Linked DNA regions of Homo sapiens: region 2 is linked to region 1. Evidence: promoter capture Hi-C in 16 types of primary human blood cells and fetal thymus (Javierre and others, 2016). All regions are on one chromosome and are shown on one strand. Each heading gives the region's core, a stretch centred on a gene start or on the middle of the fragment in contact. The rest is flanking DNA. Distances are from core to core; before and after follow the strand shown. Region 1 has its middle 7.2 kb from the start of PLXNA1. Region 2 holds the start of UROC1 (urocanate hydratase 1).

Region 1 (4,200 bases), core at 897-3,396:
TGGTGCTGGTGTAAGAGCAACAGCAAAGGTATTTTTTTTAACTTTTTATATTGAAATAATGATAATCTGTAACAATTACAGATTCACAGGAAGTTGGAAAGATAATAGAGAGAGAAGCCTGTGTACCCTTCACCCAGTTTCCCCCAATGGTCACATTCTACATAACCACCACACATCAGAAAAGGGACATTGGCACTGGTGTGACAAGGGTGTCAAGCCCTGTGTCACTTTATCACACATGGAGATCCATGTTTCTGTCCCTGTAACCAGGATACAGAGCTGTTCCCTCTCCATGGAGACCCCCTGGTACTCCCTTTCACAGTGACAATCACCCCCCTACCCCAGCTCCTGGCAGCCGCCAATCTCCTCTCCATCTCTATGATTTTGTTATTTCAAAAATGTTATATAAATGGAATTATGCCATTTACATTTTCTGTAATTACTGACATAACTTCAGTCTGCTGTTTTATTTTTTGCTTTGTTTGTTCCTGTGTTTGTTGGTGGTGGTGTTTCTCTATTTTCTTTTTTTTGCCTTGCTGAGTGTTACTTGGACATATTTAAGCATCTATTTTGGTTTTTGTACAGTGTTTTTAGTGTATATCTTTGTATAGATTTCTAGTGGCTGCCATACTGCATTATACATATGTACTTATCACAGTCTACTGCCATCAACATTTTACCATTTCGAGTGACATGTAGAAAGCTTCCCTCTCTTTGTGTCCCTTTTCCCCTTCCATTTATAATATAATTATCCTAAATATTTTTTCTACATACATTGAGACATTCGACAATGCTATAATTTTTGCTTCAACCACCAAATGTAACTTAGAAACCTTCAGAGAAGGGGTCCATTGTATTTACCCATAGTTTTGCTCTTTCCATTGTACTTTCTTCCTGATGTCTCAAGATTCCTTCCTTATCACTTTCTTTCCATGAGAAGAACTTCCTTTGGCCCTCCTTTCACAGTAGGTTTGCTGGCAACAAACTTACTTTTCCCTTCACCTGAGAAGGTCTTGATTCCTCCTCATTCCTGAGGGATAGTTTCACTGGGTATAGAATTTATGGTTGACAGCTCTTTTCTTATGGCACTTAAAAACGTTCCACTTATTTCTTGCCTCCATGCTTTCTGATGAGACATCCATGTTTTTTGGAAGGTGGTTACGTGGCTGCTTTCAAAATTGGGGTTTGTTGTTGTTTAGTTTTTGGAAGTCTGACTGTGATATGTCTTGGTGTGGATTTCCTTGGGTTTATAACGTTTGGAGTTCATTCAGCTTCTTAAATCCTTACATTTATGTCTTTTGCCAAGTTTAGGAGATTGCTTCTTCAATATTTTTTCGGCTTTGTCCTCTTTCTCTTCTCCTCCTGGCAATTAGATGACATGAATATTAGATCTTTTGTTATCTCTCAGAGAACTCTTTTCTCCCACCCCTAGTCTATTTTCTCTCTGTTTCAGACTGGGTGGTTTATATTGCTCTATCTCCAGGTTCACTGCATCTTTCCTTTGTCCCCTCTGTTCTGCTTTGGAGTTATCGATTAAGTTTTTATTCTGATTATTGTATGTTTTTAAAAAATTCTAAAGTGTCCATTTGGTTCTCTTTATAACTTCTATTTCCTTGCTGAAACATTCTTTATTTTCATTTGTTTCAAGCATGTTCATAATTGCTCATCAAAGCACCTTTAGGATGGCTGCTTTAAAAGCCTCATCAGGTAATCCTGATATTCCTTCCTGTTCAACATATACCAGTATTGGTGTATGCTGATTGTATTTTCTGGTACAACTGACATTTCTCTGGTTCTTGCTATGACAGGTGATTTTCTTATTGGATCTTGAAAGTTTGGGGTATTGTATGTTGAGACTCTGGATTACATTTCAATCTTCTGTTTCACAGCTGGCCTCTCCTGACCCCATATGGTAGACAGAGAGGGGTGCTGCCCCATTACATCAGGAATGGGGGAGGGAAACCCAGCATCCCCACTTTAACCCAGGTGTTTTTAGCACAATGAGAAAACTTGGGTTGCTTCCCTCATCTCCAGGGAAGCAGGAGGCTGATCTCTTGCTGCCCTGCTTCTTGGCAGGGCAGTGGGGGCAAGGGCTGCTAGGCCTTAAAAAGAGGGTGCCAGGGATGGCTTTTCCAGAGGCTATGGCCCTGGAGAGGGCTCCCATACTTGGGAACATCTTTGGTGACCTGACTGTGACCCCCAGGATGACAAGCAGCATTCTGGGAGTGGTAGGAGCTGGACTGAGCCACGGACTGCAAACTGGAGGCCTGCTGGCTGGGATCTTCACACTTTTGAAAGGTCTTGTTCACTCCACACTCTCCCAATAACATGTGCATGCATTCCACCGATTACTGCTGCTGCAGCCCTGGCCTGCTCCGGCATTTGGCCCATCTCACTATTTACCTCCATCAACTACTTGGCCCCTGAAGTCATCTGAGTTTGCAGCCCCAGGAGGAGGCAGTGCCAAGTCCCCCCAGTCTCCAGGGATTGCTTGCATGTGTGTGGGCAGGTGGGGGGCAGGGGGAGGGACTCTGCTACTCTGTCTTTTGTGCAATAAAGTATTGACATTGACCTGGTTTTGTCTCCAGACCGGGAGTGGGGTGGTGACAGACCTACGCCCAGAGTGGTCAAAGGGAAAGGAAGCCAAGGAGGGCTCCTGGGGTGGGGTGGGGGCTGCAGAGAGGCTTCCTGGAGGAGGGGAGAAGGAGCTTGGGCCTTGAAAAATGAATGGTGGCTGGACACAGTGGCTTACGCCTTAATCCCAGCACTTTGGGAGGCTGAGGCAGGAGGATCACTTGAGTCCAAGAGTTTGAGACCAGCCTGGCCAAGATAGGTAGACCCCATCTCTACAAAATTAAAAAAAAATAAAAATAAAAATAAAGAGGAAAGGGCCAGGTGGGGACCCTCTTGGCCAGGAGCACAGCATGAGGAAAGGCCTGATGTGGAGGTGTCTTTGGAGCAAGAGTACAGTGTGCAAAGAGCACTGGGTACCAGGGAGACATGGCTGTAGGGTGGCCTGTTGGCCCCACAGGGTCCTGAGCGCAGGCATCTCCACACTACCCACTGTGCCACATGGCAGAACATGGGTTGCAGCGCCCACAGGGGAGCCACACCACTTGCTCTGGAAACTGGGCCCCACCACCACCTGGCTGTGGCCTTGGTCAGAACAGCCCCTGACTTGCTGCTGTGTCCACATGTGTAGATGGGTGACAGCAGTCTGCCCACCTCATAGAGGAGCTCAGCGGATAAGCACGTGGATTCCTGCCTTGTGCGTGCTGAGCATTTGGTCCCAGCTGGATGTGGCGGAAGGTGGACAGCGGGTGGGCTGTGCTGGCTGTGGAGGTGCAGATCGGGGCTGCAGTGGCTCCTGGTGGGTTTGACCTGTCCTGCATCCAGGCCCACTTGTTTGAAAACTGCACCTGGATTTTCTTTGGGGTAACCACTTCCCCAGTTCCACCTACTCACTCTGGAGAGGTCCCTGATCTCAGCCAACTATAGGGCCACAGTGATGGGTTCAAGGGGGCTACACGATCCAATCTGGTTCACTGAGGCTTCATTCTGGGAACTTTCCTGGACCTATGAGGAAAGAAAAGCTTGGAGCTGCCAAGGCCACCAGGAGCAGAAGGGCTGTGTGGGCATGAACCAAGCCAGTGGCCAGCAGAACCCTGCTGTGCCCAAGATCCTGTAGGTCTGAGCTGCTGCTCATTTGAGCCAATAGATGCCTCTTGGAGCCTACGTCCAGTTGGGTTTCTGTCACTTGCAACCAGCAGCAGGGGTGGGCAGAGAATGGTGCTGGGTGAGCCTTCTCTTTGGCATGCCTGCAGCTGGGCTGAGCCCTTCTCCTCCTGTGTAGGGAGGATAATCAGGCAAAACCCTCAGAGTTGGAGGATGAGTCCGTGAACACCAACCATAGGCATCACCTCTTTTCAGGCTTCTGCAATAGTCAGCAGTCTCCCCACATCCATGCTAGCTCCCAATGTCCTCTCCACCCAGTGGCCAAAGTGGGCCTCCTAGAATGCAACAGTGATTCCATCTTGCCCCTACGTCCACTGTCAGCGGCTCCCTGTGGGCCTAGGCTCACAGTTTGACCCCACAGGGGCATGTGGGGATGAGCTGAGATGACCACAGTGCTCCACACTCACGACCCGGCACAGGGGGCATCTGTTCCATGCCAGGCCGCAGGCAGGGTGACAACAAAGT
Region 2 (4,200 bases), core at 472-2,971, 460 kb before region 1:
CTACCACCTACCCACCCCCTCCTCACCCCAGCACCCACCACCTATCCTCCCAACTCCCAGCACCCACCACCTACTGTCCCCTGCCCCCCAGCGCCCACCACCTACCCACCCCCTCCTCACCCCAGCACCCACCACCTATCCTCCCAACTCCCAGCACCCACCACCTACTGTCCCCTGCCCCCCAGCGCCCACCACCTACCCACCCCCTCATCACCCCAGCACCCACCACCTAATGTCCCCCACCCCCCAGTGCCCACCACCTACCCATCCCCTTGTCACCCCAGCACCCACCACCTACCTTCCCCCTCGTCCCCCAGCACCCACCAACTAGCCTCCTCCCACCCCCAGCGCCCACCACCTACCCTCACCCTCATCACCCCAGCACCCACCACCTACCCTCCCCCTCATCACCCAGCACCCACCACCTACCATCCCCCCACCCCAGAACTCACCACCTACCCTCCCACCCCCCAGTGCCCACCACCTACCCTCCCCCCTCCCCCCAGTGCCCACTACCTACTCTACCTTGCTGGCCCCTCCCCCATTTCCCTTTCCCTCCAGCACCCGCTCCACCTGCCCCCAGTGCCCCACTCCCACAAGGACCCCCAGCATCCTCCTAGCCCCCCAACTCCCCTCCACCCCCACACCCACCAACCTGCTTCCCCTTTCTCCCTTCCCCAGCGCCAGCTCTGCCCTGAGTGACCCCTACTGTCCCCACTGTGTCCTGTTAGGCCTCTGTGGGTGGCTCCAGAAAAGTCCAGTGGGCTCCGGTGCAAAGGGCAGCCATCTTTACCTGGGGAGGTAGGATTCCTCTTTTAATCTTTATGCTTGTTTGCAGTTTCCACTTCTCTACTGTTTCTGAAAATCTTGAGTAGTTTCCAGTAAAAAGTAGGAGGAAAGTCTATATAACCGTGTCACCTACTTTATTTCATTACTCTTCTCCACAACCCCCTGGTGTCACCATTTTCATCTCAAGCTGACAAATGACAAAAGGGAGGTTCCCAGACAGGGCACCACTGGCAAGCGTGCACCATCCCTGGACTGCTTTGCTGTTAGATGAGGGGATACTGGCCTCAGCCCATCTTTCCCTGGCAACTGCCTGCCAGCTACAGGGTTCAGCCATGCAGCCGCACGTTCTCCAGAGATTTGCGGGAGGGACATTTGCAAATGAAAATAAGAGCTGACCTGTGTGCAAACGTTCTGAGTGTTGGGGTGGACGCGGCGCTTGGTGTGGGACACTTCACACCCACCCAAGGCCTCCTCCCACTGGAGGTGGCCAAAGTGCCACCAGTGACCGGCTGCTGACCTTGAGCCTCAGGGTCCTCATCTGTAAACAGGCACGGCGATCCTGCACCCAAGGGCGGCTGCATCCAAGAGACAGAGTCCACTGTGCATTGCACCCGCACAGGCTGGAGCCCCTGGAGTCCAGGGTGGGCGGCTGAGCAGCTCCCACTAAGAGGGCAGGAAGCCTGGGTGCTCACTATGGACCACCTGGAGGATGCCTAGAGGCCAAGGCCTCGGGAGCACGGGCCCACTGCTTACCTGTTTCTCCACAGGGCTGAGGCTGGGGGTCCTGACAGGGGCATGGGGCACCCCAGCCTGGCGTCCCCGGTTCTCTGGGAGGGGCCGCAGGGGCAGGCCAGAGCACAGCGCCTGGAGGCTAGACATGTGTGACTGAGATGGAGGCAGAGGCCAGCACTGTGGGGAGGCCAGGAAGAGACTGGGCAGATAGGGCAGGGACCTCTAGCCCCAGGGCCACCTCCTCCAGCCTCTCATTGGGCGCCTGGCCTGTGCAGGGAGCCATGTGCAGGTCGGAGGGTCACTGGCCTCAGGTAGGGCACTTGCAGCGCTGACCTGGGGAGGACATTGCTCTGCGGGAGGGCAGGCTTCACAGTGGGGAGGGGGGCTGGGCTCACTTCCCCTTCCAGGAGGGCTGTGCTGTCCGGGACAGCTTTGGGGGTGGGTGGGGCTCTAATGCTGGGGTGTGCTGTGGCAGCCCTCTGGTGCACCACACCAAACATTCGATGTGGGGATCTGCATCTTGATGATGAGGAGATGGGAAGCCATGTGACACTGAACCGGACACAGAGTGTAGAGCCCCTCCTCCTGCTACCTCCTGCTGGGGGGTGGGGTGACAGGTGGAGCGGGAGCACCCAGCAGCAGGTGTGCCCTCCTTGGCTCCCCACTGGAGGGCTGGGTGACAGGTGCAGTGGGGGCCCTCAGTGGCAAGTGTGCTCTCTTCAGCTCCCGCTGGGGGGCACACCACTCTACCCCCTCCCAAAGCTCTTTTTGAAGGACCTGCCTGAGGGATGACCCTCATTCCCAAATCTGTTAACAACTCTGCCAGAAAGCACTCTTCATGAGCCCTATGCTATGGATGGAGAAACCAAGGCCCGGGTCTCCCTCACACAGCCAAGAAGTGGCCGAAGCTGAATTCCAGCAGTCCGGGGGAAGCAACACACCTGGGTGTACCCAGTGCGAGCCTGACCAGCCCTGTGGCCTTTGGCCATGTCCTGTCTACACAAGTGGGTGGCGATGGACAGCTCAGCTGCAAGGCGGTGGAGTGCCGTTAGGCAAGCCCCAGTGCAGGGCCCGCACGTGGAAGCCCAGCTGCCTTCTGAGTGCTTGCTCCTCTGAGAGCATCCTGTGGGTCAGCCCTGAGGGGTTCGTTGCCCCCATTTTAAGGATGAAGAAACAGGTGGAGAGAGGGATGGGACTTGCCCAGGGTTACACAGCCAGTCATGGGGGGAGCTGAGATTGGAGCCCTGAGGACCCAGAGGTCTGGCTCTAGCACCCTCCCATCCACGCTGGCCCTTTTGCAGCACAGGGAGGGCGCCCTTAATGGGGGTGATGTGAGACTGTGATAGAATAAGAAACAGGCTTTGATCTCTTCCCTGTTCCTGCCACAAAGCTCCTGAGGCCCTGGTAGATGGAAACTCTAGGAGAATCTTTTGTTCTAACGTTTGATCTTTGACCCTGGTTCCTGACACAGAGCTCCTAAAGCTGTTGGAATTTCCTGGGTGACAGGAGCAGAGCTCTTTTGTTCTACCGAGGGGACTCTTGGCAGATCCCTGATATCCTCAGGATTGGGGCTGGTTGACAAGGGAACCAACCTGTGATTAGAGGGTTGGAACCTTCAGCAGCCTCCTGACTTTGGGGAGGAGAGAGAAGCTGAAGGCTGAGTTGATCACCAAAGGCCAATGATTTAGTCAGTTGTGTAGGTCATGAAGCCTCCCTAAAAACCCAAAAGGACAGGGTTCAGAAGAGCTTCCCAGCAGCTGAGCACAGGCAGATTCCTGGAGAGGGTCATGCCCAGAGAAGGCACAGAAGCTCTGTGCATCTTCCCCACACCTCATCCTGGGCATCTTGTCCATCTGGCTGTTCATCTATATTCTTCGTAATGTCCTTTATAAGAAACCAGTACACATCAATAATAAAGGGTTTCTCTGAGTTTTGTGAGCCACAGTAGCAAATTAAATGAACCCTGGAATCCCCAGTTTATAGCCAGACTGTGGTCAGAACCACAGTCCACAGACCACAACCTGTGCTTGCAGCATCTGAAGTTGGGGGCGATCTTGTGGGACTGAGCCCTCAACCTGTGGGATCTCATGCCATCCCCAGCAGGTGGTGTCAGAGTTGAGCTGACTGGGACACCTAGCTGGAGGAGACACCCAGCTGAAAAGCTGGCTGCTGGAAAAAGCCCACATGTACTTTGGTGACTGGGGCGTGTTGTGTTGTGTTGTGTGAATGAAGAAGGACAAGGTTTGTTCTCATACTGGGCCTGTGGCATCTCTGCTCCTCACCAGCCAGGGCCACCTGGGACAGAGCATGCAGAAAGGTGCTCAGGCTTAAGCATCCCACACTCAATCCTTCTTATGACAGGTGCTGTTGCAGGCCCTGGGAACAGAGTGCACAAGACAGAAGTTGTGCAGCCTGGACGCCAGCGGCCAGCACCTTCGGCTGTCTTCTCAAGGGTGTCTTCTGGTGACCCTGAGTGTCTTCTTCCCACTCAGAGGGCAGCTGGAAGGGATGGAGAATTAGCAGCCCCTCCCCACCTGCCCAGGGAACAGCCCCTAAGCACCCAGGTCCCTTGCCCCTCAGGGTGGGGAGATTGTACCTCGGTCAGTTGCTTCCCCTGCCCAGCTCACTATGCACTCCCCAACAGACAGACCCTTAACAAACTGCACCAAGACCTGGTCT

What was found. The method cuts DNA at HindIII sites, captures the fragments that hold promoters and counts their contacts. A CHiCAGO score of 5 or more calls a contact.
Region 2: a contact is called between the fragment with the promoter of UROC1 here and a fragment that was not itself captured in region 1, in 1 of 17 cell types (M2 macrophages). The highest score is 6.1, in M2 macrophages.

The regions. Positions count from the first base shown.
Region 1 is chr3:126,973,857-126,978,056 of GRCh38, forward strand. No RefSeq gene overlaps it. Among named protein-coding and RNA genes, the nearest start is that of PLXNA1, 7.2 kb to the right of the region's middle. The HindIII fragment of the contact is 2,890 bases long and covers 702-3,591 here.
Region 2 is chr3:126,516,052-126,520,251 of GRCh38, forward strand. UROC1 (urocanate hydratase 1) reads right to left here and starts at 1,722. Exons shown (of 20, transcript NM_144639.3): 1 at 1,543-1,722. The coding sequence starts at 1,668. The HindIII fragment of the contact is 15,536 bases long and covers 1-4,200 here.